3 separate regions of the Homo sapiens genome follow, and all the other regions are linked to region 3. Evidence: promoter capture Hi-C in 16 types of primary human blood cells and fetal thymus (Javierre and others, 2016). All regions are on one chromosome and are shown on one strand. The core of a region is centred on a gene start or on the middle of the fragment in contact, and the rest is flanking DNA. Distances in the headings are between cores, read along the strand shown.

Evidence for each region. Contacts are between HindIII fragments. The CHiCAGO score rates a contact against its expected background, and 5 or more counts as called.
Region 1: a contact is called between a fragment that was not itself captured here and the fragment with the promoter of PIWIL4-AS1 in region 3, in 1 of 17 cell types (naive CD4 T cells). The highest score is 5.6, in naive CD4 T cells.
Region 2: a contact is called between a fragment that was not itself captured here and the fragment with the promoter of PIWIL4-AS1 in region 3, in 1 of 17 cell types (non-activated CD4 T cells). The highest score is 5.2, in non-activated CD4 T cells.

What each region holds. Positions count from the first base shown.
Region 1 is chr11:96,440,709-96,444,905 of GRCh38, forward strand. It overlaps JRKL-AS1 (JRKL antisense RNA 1), which reads right to left. Exons shown (of 5, transcript NR_047481.2): 5 at 2,573-2,667. Among named protein-coding and RNA genes, the nearest start is that of JRKL, 53 kb to the left of the region's middle. The HindIII fragment of the contact is 5,718 bases long and covers 1-4,197 here.
Region 2 is chr11:96,460,627-96,464,567 of GRCh38, forward strand. The region is part of intron 1 of JRKL-AS1 (JRKL antisense RNA 1); the gene reads right to left. Among named protein-coding and RNA genes, the nearest start is that of JRKL-AS1, 44 kb to the right of the region's middle. The HindIII fragment of the contact is 2,247 bases long and covers 962-3,208 here.
Region 3 is chr11:94,738,619-94,742,695 of GRCh38, forward strand. It overlaps PIWIL4-AS1 (PIWIL4 antisense RNA 1), which reads right to left and starts at 1,737. Exons shown (of 5, transcript NR_135093.1): 1 at 1,600-1,737. It also overlaps a transcript of AMOTL1 not described here. The HindIII fragment of the contact is 14,674 bases long and covers 1-4,077 here.

The DNA.
Region 1 (4,197 bases), core at 1,015-3,514, 1.7 Mb after region 3:
CCAGGCATGGTGGCACATACTGGTAATCCCAGCCACTTGGAAGCCTGAGGCACAAGAATCACTTCAACCTGGGAGGTGGAGGTTGCAGTGAACTGAGATCACACCACTGCACTCCAGCTTGGGCAACAGAGAAAGACTCTGTCTCAAAAAAAAAAAAAAGAAATAGCAAGCATAATATTTGAAGCTATATTGTTTTTCTTCAGGCATTTGCCACTTTGAAAGAGACAACAAAGAGGTTAACCAGCACTTTTGAAATATTTTTGAGATGTAAGTGGAACAAAAGTTGGAGTTGAGAATATGTCAGAGTTTGAGATCTAATGAACATCTTCACAGGGTGGCAATCTCAAGTGGATGTACCGTGGGTATTAAGGAAGCCATAACTAAATCAGCCCATTCACAGATATAGATGAGTATGGTGTAATGTAAGTGGTCCAGAAAATGTCAAATCATAAAATTTGAATTAAGGTAATCTTGGATTGCTAGACCTTCCAGGTACTTGGCAGAAGCAGACAAAATTCCACATTAGAGGAAGATAACATTACCTGAGGTCTCAGATTGTTTTTACAATAATTTTTCAAATGCCATGTTCAGGATACAATCAAAGATAATCAAATATCTGAGAAGGAAAGACAACGTAAGCAAGATAAAGTGCAAAAAGTTAAGAGAAACATACCCAGAGGTACTCCAGATAGTGGAATTATCACACATCCTTTGTAAAATCGGTATTTTACAATGGTTTAGAAATCAAAATCCAAATCTAAAAATTCTAGCAAGTTACTTAAAATGATAAAACACATAATTTCAGATTGAAAAAGAATTAGAGTTTCTATTTCTAAAAGAAAAACATAACAAAAATTGCTAAGGTATTTAGCTCAGTTATGCATAACCAAAGAGAAAATTGGTGAACTGGAACATGTCAGAAGAAAATATTCATTGCCAATTTTATTTAATTGTAAAAAAAATCCACAGAGGGATTAAAAAATCTGGAGAGTAAGAGACATATAGAGTAAGATGGTCTAACCCTTGTTTAATTGGAGTCTCAGATAGAAAGCAGAGAGAGGATGCAGCAGAATTTGAAGAAATAATGCTGAGAATTTTCTGAAATGATTAAAGACATCAGTTTGCAAATTCAAGATGCTTAATGAATCCCAAGAAATATAAATAAAAAGATACCCACACCTAAATATATTATAGTGCAATGCTAAAGGAAAATCTTGAAAGCAGCCAGGAAAAAAAAGAATATTACCTGTAAAGATGTAACCAATGGAATAACAGATAACTTCTCAATAGAAACAATAGAAACCAGGTAACAATGGGATAATATCTTCTTAGTGCTGACATGAGTGAATGGCTGAAACTCTAATAGAAACCATATTTTTTCTGAACGGAGTATAAGGAAAAGGAGCATTTCTGAGTCTGGGAGTATGGCGGTGTGTGGAGAATCCCAGAGAGGAGGGATCCAGAGAAAAGGATTCCCTAACTGCATGCAAACCTGCACAAAGTCTCAGTCTAACCCATAAACTATACATGCACAGAACAGGCCCAATTCAGCATAGCTAAGGCTTTGAAAACTGAACTGAGACTGGAACTGCTTATAGAAGTCTCAGCCTAACCCCTAAATAACACATTCATAGGACAAATGTAGACCAACATAGTGATGATTTCGAGCTAAATGAAGATTAAAATCAGGGCTCACAAAAGGTGAGAAACAGTACAGTCTGAATATACCCAGGTTTTTTGCTTGCTAAAACAAAAACATTAACAATCTCAAGAGGATTAAAATAGGAGCAAGAATCTACACACACAATTTAACATTCACAATTACAATATCCAAGAGGAATACAGGAATTCATTTTACTATTCTTTAAACTTTTCTCTAAATTTGAAATTATATTTTTAAAAAAGTTACAAAAAAGAAAAAGAGTCAAAGGGAAGAAAATTTGAGGCAAAGAAAACATCCTTGAAGTGGGAAAGAGCCTGGCATGTTATAGGAACTAAGAGAAAAACAGTATGGCCGGAGTGTGTTGACAAGGTGCCAGGTGGCAAGTGATGAGGAGCAGAAAAGACAGTGGAAACTGGGGCTAGATCATGCGGGTTCTCATCGGCTATGGTAAGGAGTTTGGATTTGACTCTGATGGGAAGTCACTATAAAGTTCTGAGCAGGGATGTGACAAGATATACCTTGCAGTTAATTTCAGGGAATTATTCTAACTGGAGTTGCTTAGGCTACACATCAGCCTCTGAGTCACCCAATCACTGTATCTACAGAAAAAAGGAATAACTAGGCCTTCCCTTGGTCCTCTTATCCAGAGGATGAGGATGGGGAAAATCCCCACTGGAACCCTGTGGGACAGCCAAAACCAATAGCTGCCACTGCCCACAATTTGCTATGCCTGGGCTGCCCAGCATATCACTGTTTGTGACCCCCCTACAGCAAACCTGCATTTCCGTCTCAGTTCTAATAACATCCCAAGTAACATTACAAATGATCCCACATTCAACACCAAGAATAAGAGCAAAAGCCCCTACTTACACTCTCTCTAAATGGAGATGGCGTAGAAATAGCATTTGGTTTCTCTATTCTATTCCAAGTCCAATATCTCTGGGTGATAATTATTTCATATAGTCAGGTTTGAATGTGGCTCTTCTTGACCCTGCAACTGAAGGCTAGATGCCAAATTGAATGTTGGAAGGAAAACGGTTATTCAGCAAGTTAGATGCAGAGGCTGGCCCTCTCCCAGAGGGAAGGGCTATGCCTGAACCCAATTATCCACTGTAACAGGAACCCCTTTCCAGCAGCAGGAATGGCAGCAGCAGCAGCATCCCACCACTCAGAAATTATCAGGTGATGGCAGCTAGCATTCTCAGACGGCTCCTAGCCATGTTGGCATTTATACTCAGACAACTTGGTGTCTACATCCTTTGTATTTATACCCCATATCTGAAATTTATCATGATTGCATGTTATGACAGTGGAGAGTCAGGATCCCTCTCCTGGGGGCAGGGACCTGGGGTGTGTCCATCAGTATGCTGAACTGATTTTTAGACCTCTCTTTGTGATAATAAGACAATGCAGACTATATGCCTCTTAAATTTAATCCTTGATTTGTATGTTTTCCCAATAAATCCAGTTGCTTATAAACTTACCTATGATATTGCAGAATTTGCCCTCACTCATTTTTAACTATGATTTTTTTTTCTGTTTTATAGAAGGGAATGAATACAGTGAAGTTGCTCTCCTGCAGGTTGTATTACATTTGCTAGATAGGTATGTCAAAGATCTCTTTGCCCTAGTAGTGGTCTGATTTCCTGTATTAGGATAGACTTGATTTTTGTTCAGGTTCTGCTTGCCAGGAGTATCTTCCTGGTCTGTGATTTCCAGTGGCAATTCCCAAGAGTGGCATCAATGAGGATTCACCTTCTGAAGTGTTGAAGACCTCTATTTATTTTGTCTCCCAGCATACAGTCCTCTCCTGATCACAAAATCTCGCCTCTCTAAAGGAAACACATTCCATATATTTGAGACATAGCTACACCCCTTCTGCCTACCAAACCTCCCATTCTTCTCTTTCTTCTCCCAGCTACAGGGATGGGCACATGAACCTAAACCAGAGGGTCAGACTCCTCCTCAGAACTCCTTTTCAGGGGTTTTTGGAGAATATGTTCTCTTATGACTGCAGCTGTAAGGTTGGTGGGTTGTGAGTCTTGGGGCCCTGGAGACCCTGTGCCTGCTACGTGGAGAGAGTGAGAGAGCTTCAATGCCAGCATTTGTGCATTTCATCCAGCTGGGTCACAATTCAGTGTTTCTTATGTAATTTTCAGCTGAATGAGTTCAAAATATTCTCTTATTGCTTAAGCAGTATACTGTCATTTGTAGTCAAGAGTTGTACCTAATTACATGAGGGCTTCACTGCTTTAGCTGAATGAGGTCTGTTGGCAAGTTTATATTAGTCTAGGAATTGCTTTAGGAGCTGAGCAATCACAGGACCTTCTTGACCAGGTTTGAATTTTCTCTGGCAATTAAACTTCTTTAACATACTACCATGTTGCTGGTGGGTTTGATCTGGAGGTGCCTCATTAGCTTGTAAGAAATGTCGGAAATCTTATTATGATCACGGAATCTGGACCCTTGCCTTTGAAGTTTCTATCTCTAAGCAACAGTAGTCAGGCTTCTCCCCATAGCTCTAGGCCTGAGTT
Region 2 (3,941 bases), core at 835-3,334, 1.7 Mb after region 3:
GAAATAAACTACTTTTTGTGTTTAGCCTACCAGGTTTATTGTTACAATAAAAAGACCTAGCCTATCCCGATTAACACAGATCCTCTGTATGATGGTTACTCTGCAGCCACAGGCCAGCCACATTTAACAAGAAATACAATGTAGCCACTGTCCTCATGGACCACTTAATCTAATGGGGGTTACACTTACATAAATGATCTTAGAGGAAGGGCACCTCTGCTTGAGGGGGTAATTGGGGTACAGATGGACTCCTTCAAACCTTCAGATGAGGCTAAATTATATTTTAACATCATTTTAGTTCCAAATTGTATCTCCTAGCTGATGTGGCCTTGAGTAAAGCACCCATCAAATAAGATTGTGTATCCTCTTGATTTGTCATCTCTAAAGAGACAGGGTCCATATCTTCCAACATGCTTTGTAAGTGCACTCAGCTCCATGCTCTACTTGGTGCTGATGATGCCAGCTAGCTTCTGATTTCAGCAGAGAGATACTATTGAATTCATCTGACCTCTGCACTGAAAATAGATCTTTGCTGAAAAGAAGGCAATGTAAAATGGGACCCTCATTTTTATCCTTATCTATTGGCATAATTGCTGTCTATTTATTTTCAATTGTTTTGCATGCCAGTGTTTTTCAAGGACTGACTTCTAAATATGCTTCAAAGAGAGTAAAACTGCATAATAAAAAAGTCAGAGAAATTTTAAAAAGATGGGTTAGCTTGTAAAGGGGCAGGGGTTTGAGTGACTATGTAGAATTCAAATGCTTCTCATTACTAGGATAAGCGGAAATCTTTCTTTCCTAAAATTAGAGTGGTTGGGGAAGAAGGGAGCATTTATTTGTTAAAAATTAACCTTTCATGATTGAAGAATTGATAATAGGCATAGTCCGAGTAAGTGGGAATTGGTTGACTGGGTAGAAGTGATTGCAGGGGAAGTTCTTGAAATGGAGACAAAGAGCTAGAAGCTTCATCCTTTCTGAAAAACAATATGGAATCAAGTGGATTCAGATCGTGGTTAAGAGTTTGAAGATTTTAGACACTGACAAAAGTATATTTAATTCCTGGCTCTATTTTCTATCTTAGTGATATGTGGCAAATTATTTGACCTATTCATGACTAGTTACTTCTTAAAAAGTTTTAAAAAATATTCAGTAATATTTTGGAAGTGGGGTAATTGTTCTTGTTACATTAGATAGTGTGATGATTCAAGGAGATACTGAACCATGCTTGGAATAAAGTGCTTAATAAAGAGTAGCCCTTTACTCTTTACAATGTTGATAATTATCAACATTATTACGTAAATACAGACTTCCTAGTGCTTAGGCTAAGATAAAAGAGTATGAAGAGGCATTTTACATAATTACACCATGAGGGTGTGCCCAAGAAAGAAGCATCATATGTGTGTTTGTACGTAGGGATTCTGGGAGACAGGAACTCATTTTTGCTAGACTGGATCTTGAAAGACTGTGTTGCTAAAGCTATAGCAGCCAGAATCTTGTTGCCATGAGGAAAAAGCCTGGAATTTCTAGTGATAAGCATGAGCAGAAAAGTAAAGCAGTACAAAGACAGAAAAATAAAAAGATATGGAGAATCTCAATCCAGATAATGTATGTGATCTCTGAGTCTAGCCATGCCTAATGTTGGTGCAACCCCGGATTTTCTAATTCTTGAGCTAATAAATTCTGAGTTTGAGTCTTGAGTTTTCAGGTACTTGCAACAGAAAGGATCCTTTAAAAATAATTAGTTTTTGATAAAAAGAAGGGTATTTTCTCCCCTCTTTCTTTCTTGAGTTTAGACATGATGCCTGGAGCTATATTAGTTGGATATCCACCTGGAGGCAAAAATCTTGAGGCAAAGGCTAACAGAAATGCTGACATATTTATCCTGACAGTTTAGAGCCATGGAAGTAATGCCAACCTCACTTTTTGTATTAGTTTACTGGAGATGTCATATAAAGTACTACAGATTAGGTGGTTTAAATGACAGAAATGTATTTTCTCGCAATGCTGGAAGCTAGAAGTCTGAGATCAAGTAATCAGCTCGGTCAGTTTCTTCTGACACCTCTTTTCTTGGCATGCAGGTGGCTGTCTTCGTGTGTTTTCCCATGCTCCTCCCTCTGAGTGTGTGTGTATCCAAATCTTCTTTTCTTTTAAGGATACCTGTCATATGGGATAAAGTCCCACCCTAATTACCTTATTTCAACTTTATGACCTTTATAAAGATAGGATTACCTTCTGAGGTACTGAGGATTAGGACTTCAACATATGAATTTTGAGGGAACATGATTCAGCCCATAACACTTTTATTACAGAAAGGCAACACGTACAGAAGTCATCATATTTCAGATTATTTTGTTAATATTTTAGAAGCTAAACAAATAGTTTAAACCCTGTTGGAAGTAGTTTATTTGAATTTCTATTTATGCAGATATATTTCTTTTGACTTACTAGGAGCTGGGCTATGATCTCATGCTTTGGTAATACATACAATTCTCGGAAGAAAAGGGTTTGTAGACAAAAGATGCTTTGCTCTTGAATTCAGGGACTATAGATTGTCTTTCTCCTTCATTTTACAAAAAAGGACCGTTTTTCCCCCCAGAACTCCAACGAATGAATTTAGGGCTTTAATAGCTTAGAGAGATCATGGGAGGAGGGAAAAAAAACCCAACAAAGTGGACTGGGGTTCATAAGGGCGTGATCCCAGGCATACAGAAGGAAGTTTGACCAAGAGGATTAATAATAGCTCCTGCCATTACCAGAGTACTGTCTAACTCCTGGAAGCCAAAAAGTAGCCCTCTTACCCTTTCTCTCCAAGACTAGATCACTTTACTCTATCCTAAAACTTGAGCTGATAATTGCAAATGTTAACGTTTTCAACTACACAGGGGAGGCATTGCCTTTTTGGGAGCTTAGCGAGAACTTCAGCAGACTTTCTATATCTCCCCAGGGGGTGGAAAACCTGCACAAGTTGGATTCCAGGCCTGTTAAGTTAAAAAAAAAAAAAAAAAAGAAAGAAAGAAAAAAGAAAAAAAAAAGAAAAAGAAAAAGAAATTTATCTAAGTGCCGAGAAGAAAAGTCAGGTTTTAAAATATTGTCCATGACTTGTTTTCTAATAGCTTCTAATTTCTCATGGAGGCAATCGTATTTGAAATGAGATTTGAGTAAAAAGGAAAAGCATGGTATTTGCAAACTATTCATCCATATACAATAAAGCTTTAATGATTTTTTCCTTCCACGATTTTAGCATAAAGTCTGATCCTATGGTCTTTACATAGGTTGAGCTTTTACATTTTTAAAATGGTATTTCAGCTTGATTAGGAACTCCAAGGGGAGAGGGCTGATCCAGACTAGAATCCAGACAGCTTGTTCACCCACTGTATTTTGCCCAGTAGAGGGCACTTGGAACTCACACATAAATTGCAGTGGCATCAGTGGTAGCGGCGGCAGCAGCAGCACTTAAGATATCCATTTTCATTGCCATGGTGATTCTTTTTTTTTTTTTTGAGACCGAGTTTCTCTCTTGTTGCCCCAGGCTAGAGTGCAATGGCGCGATCTCGGCTCACTGCAACCTCCATCTACCAGGTTCAAACAATTCTCCTGCCTCAACCTCCCAAGTAGCTGGGATTACAGGCACCCGCCACCACGCCCAGCTAATTTTTTGTATTTTTAGTAGAGACGGGGTTTCACCATGTTGGCCAGGCTGGTCGTGCACTCCTGACCTCAGGTGATCTGCCTGCCTCGGTCCCCCAAAGTGCTGGGATTACAGGCGTGAGCCACAGCGCCCGGCCGCCATGGAGATTCTTAATTAACAGATAACATCAGGTTTTCATTGACACTGGTAAAATGAGGTGACTGTGACCTTGAATAATAAAATCTGTAATCATTTTGGAAATATCAGGAGTTGGAAACTACTTAGATATTTCTTCTTGGTGATTGTGCTGACC
Region 3 (4,077 bases), core at 487-2,986:
ATTTTACTAGGGTTGTGTTTTCACCAGGTAAATAGCATGGAAAGAGAGCAGAACATGGATTTGAAGGTGTAAGTAAGAGAGAAATAATAATGAAACTGGAAACTAAAGTCCATAAGGAAGGAAGGAGGGTCATGAGGAGAGTGAGGGGCAGAGAAAAGGTCATGGATAAGTAAATTATAGATGCTGGTGGGGTCAAGGACACATTGGATTAAAATAACAGAGGGGATAAGCTGGAAAGGTAGGAGAGTGGATTACTTCACCTTGATATTATGCATGGTGTCGCTATGACAGCAGGGGGCTGGTGTGGTTGGAGCAGGTCAAGAAAGGGATAAGATGCAGAAGAGTTGAGAGATCAGAGTGTGACTATGTAGATGGAGAAAAATAAGAATAATCACAGGAATGATACTGGGAAAAGTGACAGTGAATCAGATGCCATTATCTTCAAGAAATGAGGTAGAACAACCAGAGGATCCATAGATGGCTGAAATAAGTAGAGGAGGCAAGTAATGCAGCCTGTTATTTTCAAGGAAAGCCAGGTATGGGTCAGAGCACAACACTGAAAGAAACATTCAGAGAGGAGGCTGAGGATATATAGATTTTGCTAGCGATGAACCATGAGTTCCAGAGGACAAATGGGAGGATTCTAGGAGTTGGGAGGGGATGGAGTGATGAGTGCAAACCCTCACCCAAACATATTTAATTCCTGGATTTGGGAGCTCAGATTATAAGAAGCAGGAAAAAGAAGAGGTTGGAGAGATAGGCTCAGCAGCTCAAGAATGCTGCCTTGCTTGGGGAGGACAGCCCCACCCCTGCTTCCCTGGGCTCCCTAAGCAATGCTGGCCGAAGGGGCTTTCTGTCCTTCATGGTGATTTGTAAACCAAAAACTGACAGTGGAAAAGCCAGAGATGGCTGAGTGTTTACAGGATGAGAGCACATTGGCTCAGATCGGGGCCCTTAGGCTGCTGCAGCTGGTGCTCTGATCACTTTGAGACAATAGAAGGCCCCCAGGAGGCTGCCCAGACTGTTGACCCTCCAATAGTCCTCCAAGGATGGAGAAAGGACAACCATTTCCATACTTGTTCCTTCCTTCCCACTGACCCTGTTATGGGCCATCAGCTGCGGGGCTCTCTCTGGAGCACACCCCAAGTCCAGCACCCTCGCCCCCTTAATGCAGAGCAGTCACAGTCAGTCCTGGGGGCTGGGGGGAGATACATAACACATCTGTCCAAGTTATCAGGCTACTGACTCAGAGGGGGAGGTTCTCACAGTGTTACATTAATTATTTTAGAATTTACAGTTCTCAGAGCATAACCATTGCTTCTACATTCTGTATTTGAAAGCAGTCAATCTTTTATAGAGTAGAAGGAGCACTGCTCTTCTCTCCTCCCCCACTTCTCCCTCACATACCCCTACCATAATGATGTCACGCATAAATTAACAACTTCTCAGCCTCGGTTTCCCAACCTGTGCAATGCAGCTCATATTACTTTGCCCACTTGAGCCAGGTGATCTCTTGAAGAGTAGGAAATAATGTTGGACTGGAGTTGGAATTCTGGTTCCAAAAGGAGGGGATTGGGGGGCATTTGGGTCTCCTCCTACCTTTCTGCAAGCTCTGAAAATCGTCCATCTCCTCAGGAGAAGCCCACAGAACAAACGATTTCCCAAGCATCAGAGGAGGGCAGACATAACATAACAGAGCAGGGAATCGGGTTAGAACGGGTTATGCTCTGATTTTTTGGAAAATGGGCAAACGGGGCGGGGACTAGGGAGGATTCCGCCAGCCGGGAGTTGGGAGGCCGCGCGCGCCTCTGCGGAGCGTGACGGCCACGGTCGCCTAGCAACGAGCGGGGATGCGCGGGGCGCCTGGGTGGGCGAGGGGTGCTCGCCGCCGCCGCCGCGCGCCCTCGGGCCCCCGGGACCGCGGGAAAACTTCGCGGCTCCTCGGCGCTGGGGCGTCGGCGCCAGGCCCGGCAGACAGAGCAATGCGCCCCGCGGGCTGAGGGCAGAGGATGCGGCCGCGGCCCAGCGCCCGGCCGGGGGAGCCGCGGGGTGGCACGCGGGGAAAGTTGGCGCGCGCCTGACCGCGCCTGGAAGCCGCGCGGTGCCAGGGCCGAGTTGTCCCCCAAGTTTCTGCGGCGATTTGTCACTCCCTGGGGATCTGGCGGTCTGAATCCCGCGGGGCCTCCGGCTCAGGGATTCTGAGCGCTGGGAGAGAGAAGCCCGCGCTTTTCCCGGGGACCTGCGCTTGAGCTGGTGCTTGTGCGGGTTCGTCCTGAATGGTAGCGATTCGAGTTGTTTTCTGCTTTTCTTCTCCCCCAGACAGTGAGTTTGTGGAAGCCTCGCCCGCATCCTACAGCCCAGACGAGTTAGGTAAGTCTGCTCATTTTGTCTTTTATTTCTTGGTCGCAATTCTGCCCGAGAACTGCGAGTTTGGGGGGCGTCCATAGGAACTCAGCTAGGGATGGGGCTGGGGTTGGAGGGCGGAGGGAAAGGGTCAGGGGACACCTGCTGCCTTCGCGGCCGGAACCGGCCTTTCCTCGGCGCTGTGCTTTCGGGGGTGGCAGGGCAAGTGTCCAATGAGCCGTGCGTGTGTGTGTGTGTGCGTGCGTGTGCGTGTGTGTGTGTGTGAGTGCGTGTGTGTGCGTGTTCGTCTGGGGCAGTGGTGCTGCTCCGAGGAGCCTGGCACAGCAAACTTCCAGAGCTGGGGCTTCTGAAACCTGCGCTCATCTTGCCGGGAGGACACAGCGGCGACTGGTTCTGACTTGCCAAGTACCTGGCACGAGAAGGACGTCGTGTGGGTCGTCCTTACCCTGAATTTAATGAAGTCAGGGGCTGAAAACGGCGGTGTAATCATTAAACTGTAAGACCTAGGAGCTGCTTCCCTCCCTGATTTCTATTCCTCAGTTAGCCTGTAGGTGTCTCGAGATAGGACATTCCATCCTCATGCCTGTCATGGTAAGTGGAGATTTGCGATGGGTGAACCGGGACACTCTTGTCAAGAGACAGGCTGAAGAGAGAGTGAAGAGAAGGAAATGCGAATGGGCAGGATCTCTCTAACTCTTCCTGCCACCCATTCTCACTCGGTGGCTTAGTGGCTCTCTTTTTTTTTTCTTCTGCTTTCAAGGTTAGTTTAGCTGCTACTGGTCTGGGCTATCAAGTCTCTCCTTACTGTTCTTTCATCACTAGCCTGAATATCTTGCCTTCCTAAGATGAAATGAAAGGATTTATTTTATGATATATGTTGACAGTAAAGGAGGAGGGGAACTGTCCACAAACAGCGGTTTAAATATGTTTATCCTCAGTAACACACTCAGCTGTGGCACCCTGTCCCTGGTCAGCTTCTTGTGCTGGGAAGAATGTCCTCATCAAGTCCCACAGGACCTGAAGCAAAATTCCACCTCAACAACGACTTTCATTCATTTCTAGGAGCCAAGCGCCCAAAATAGATCTGGATCAAGGTTGGCATTCTGTGGCTGGGAGGAGTACCATGTTTTATTCAGAGGATGTGTTTCTGACAAGTTGCGAGGCAATCACATCTCTATCAGTGGAATTGTAGACTAAATGCATGAGCAAAACTAGCTTTTAAGACATACTGTGGTGAATCATTTTATGAAATGAAAGTGACATCTAAACCATAGCTTTTCATGATGTGATTTATTAAGAGGACAGGTACTCGATGATCTGCTCCACGCATGTATAATTGTATGTTAATGACACCAGCATTGACACTCCACAGTGCGACGAAGCCATTTGGTCCTCTTAAATTGTACATAAACATAAGCAATGGTAGGATGAGCATTGCTTGCTCTGGGAAATCAGACTGTATAACTACTAAATTGTTTGCCTTCACAGAATGATTTGTGCTTCAGGAAGGCCCAGGTATTTGACCCTTTTTCATCTCCATATCTCCCTCTGGGACTTACAGACTGGACTGCCCCCATGAGGCACTGATAAATATGAGTATCCTTTCAAATTAGCAGTAGAAAATAAAAAACAATGTTTTTTTCTCTTCAGCTCCCCTATGGTAAAAGCCCAGTTTCTCATGAGGAGATTAGAGTGTGTGTCTTAGTCCATTTG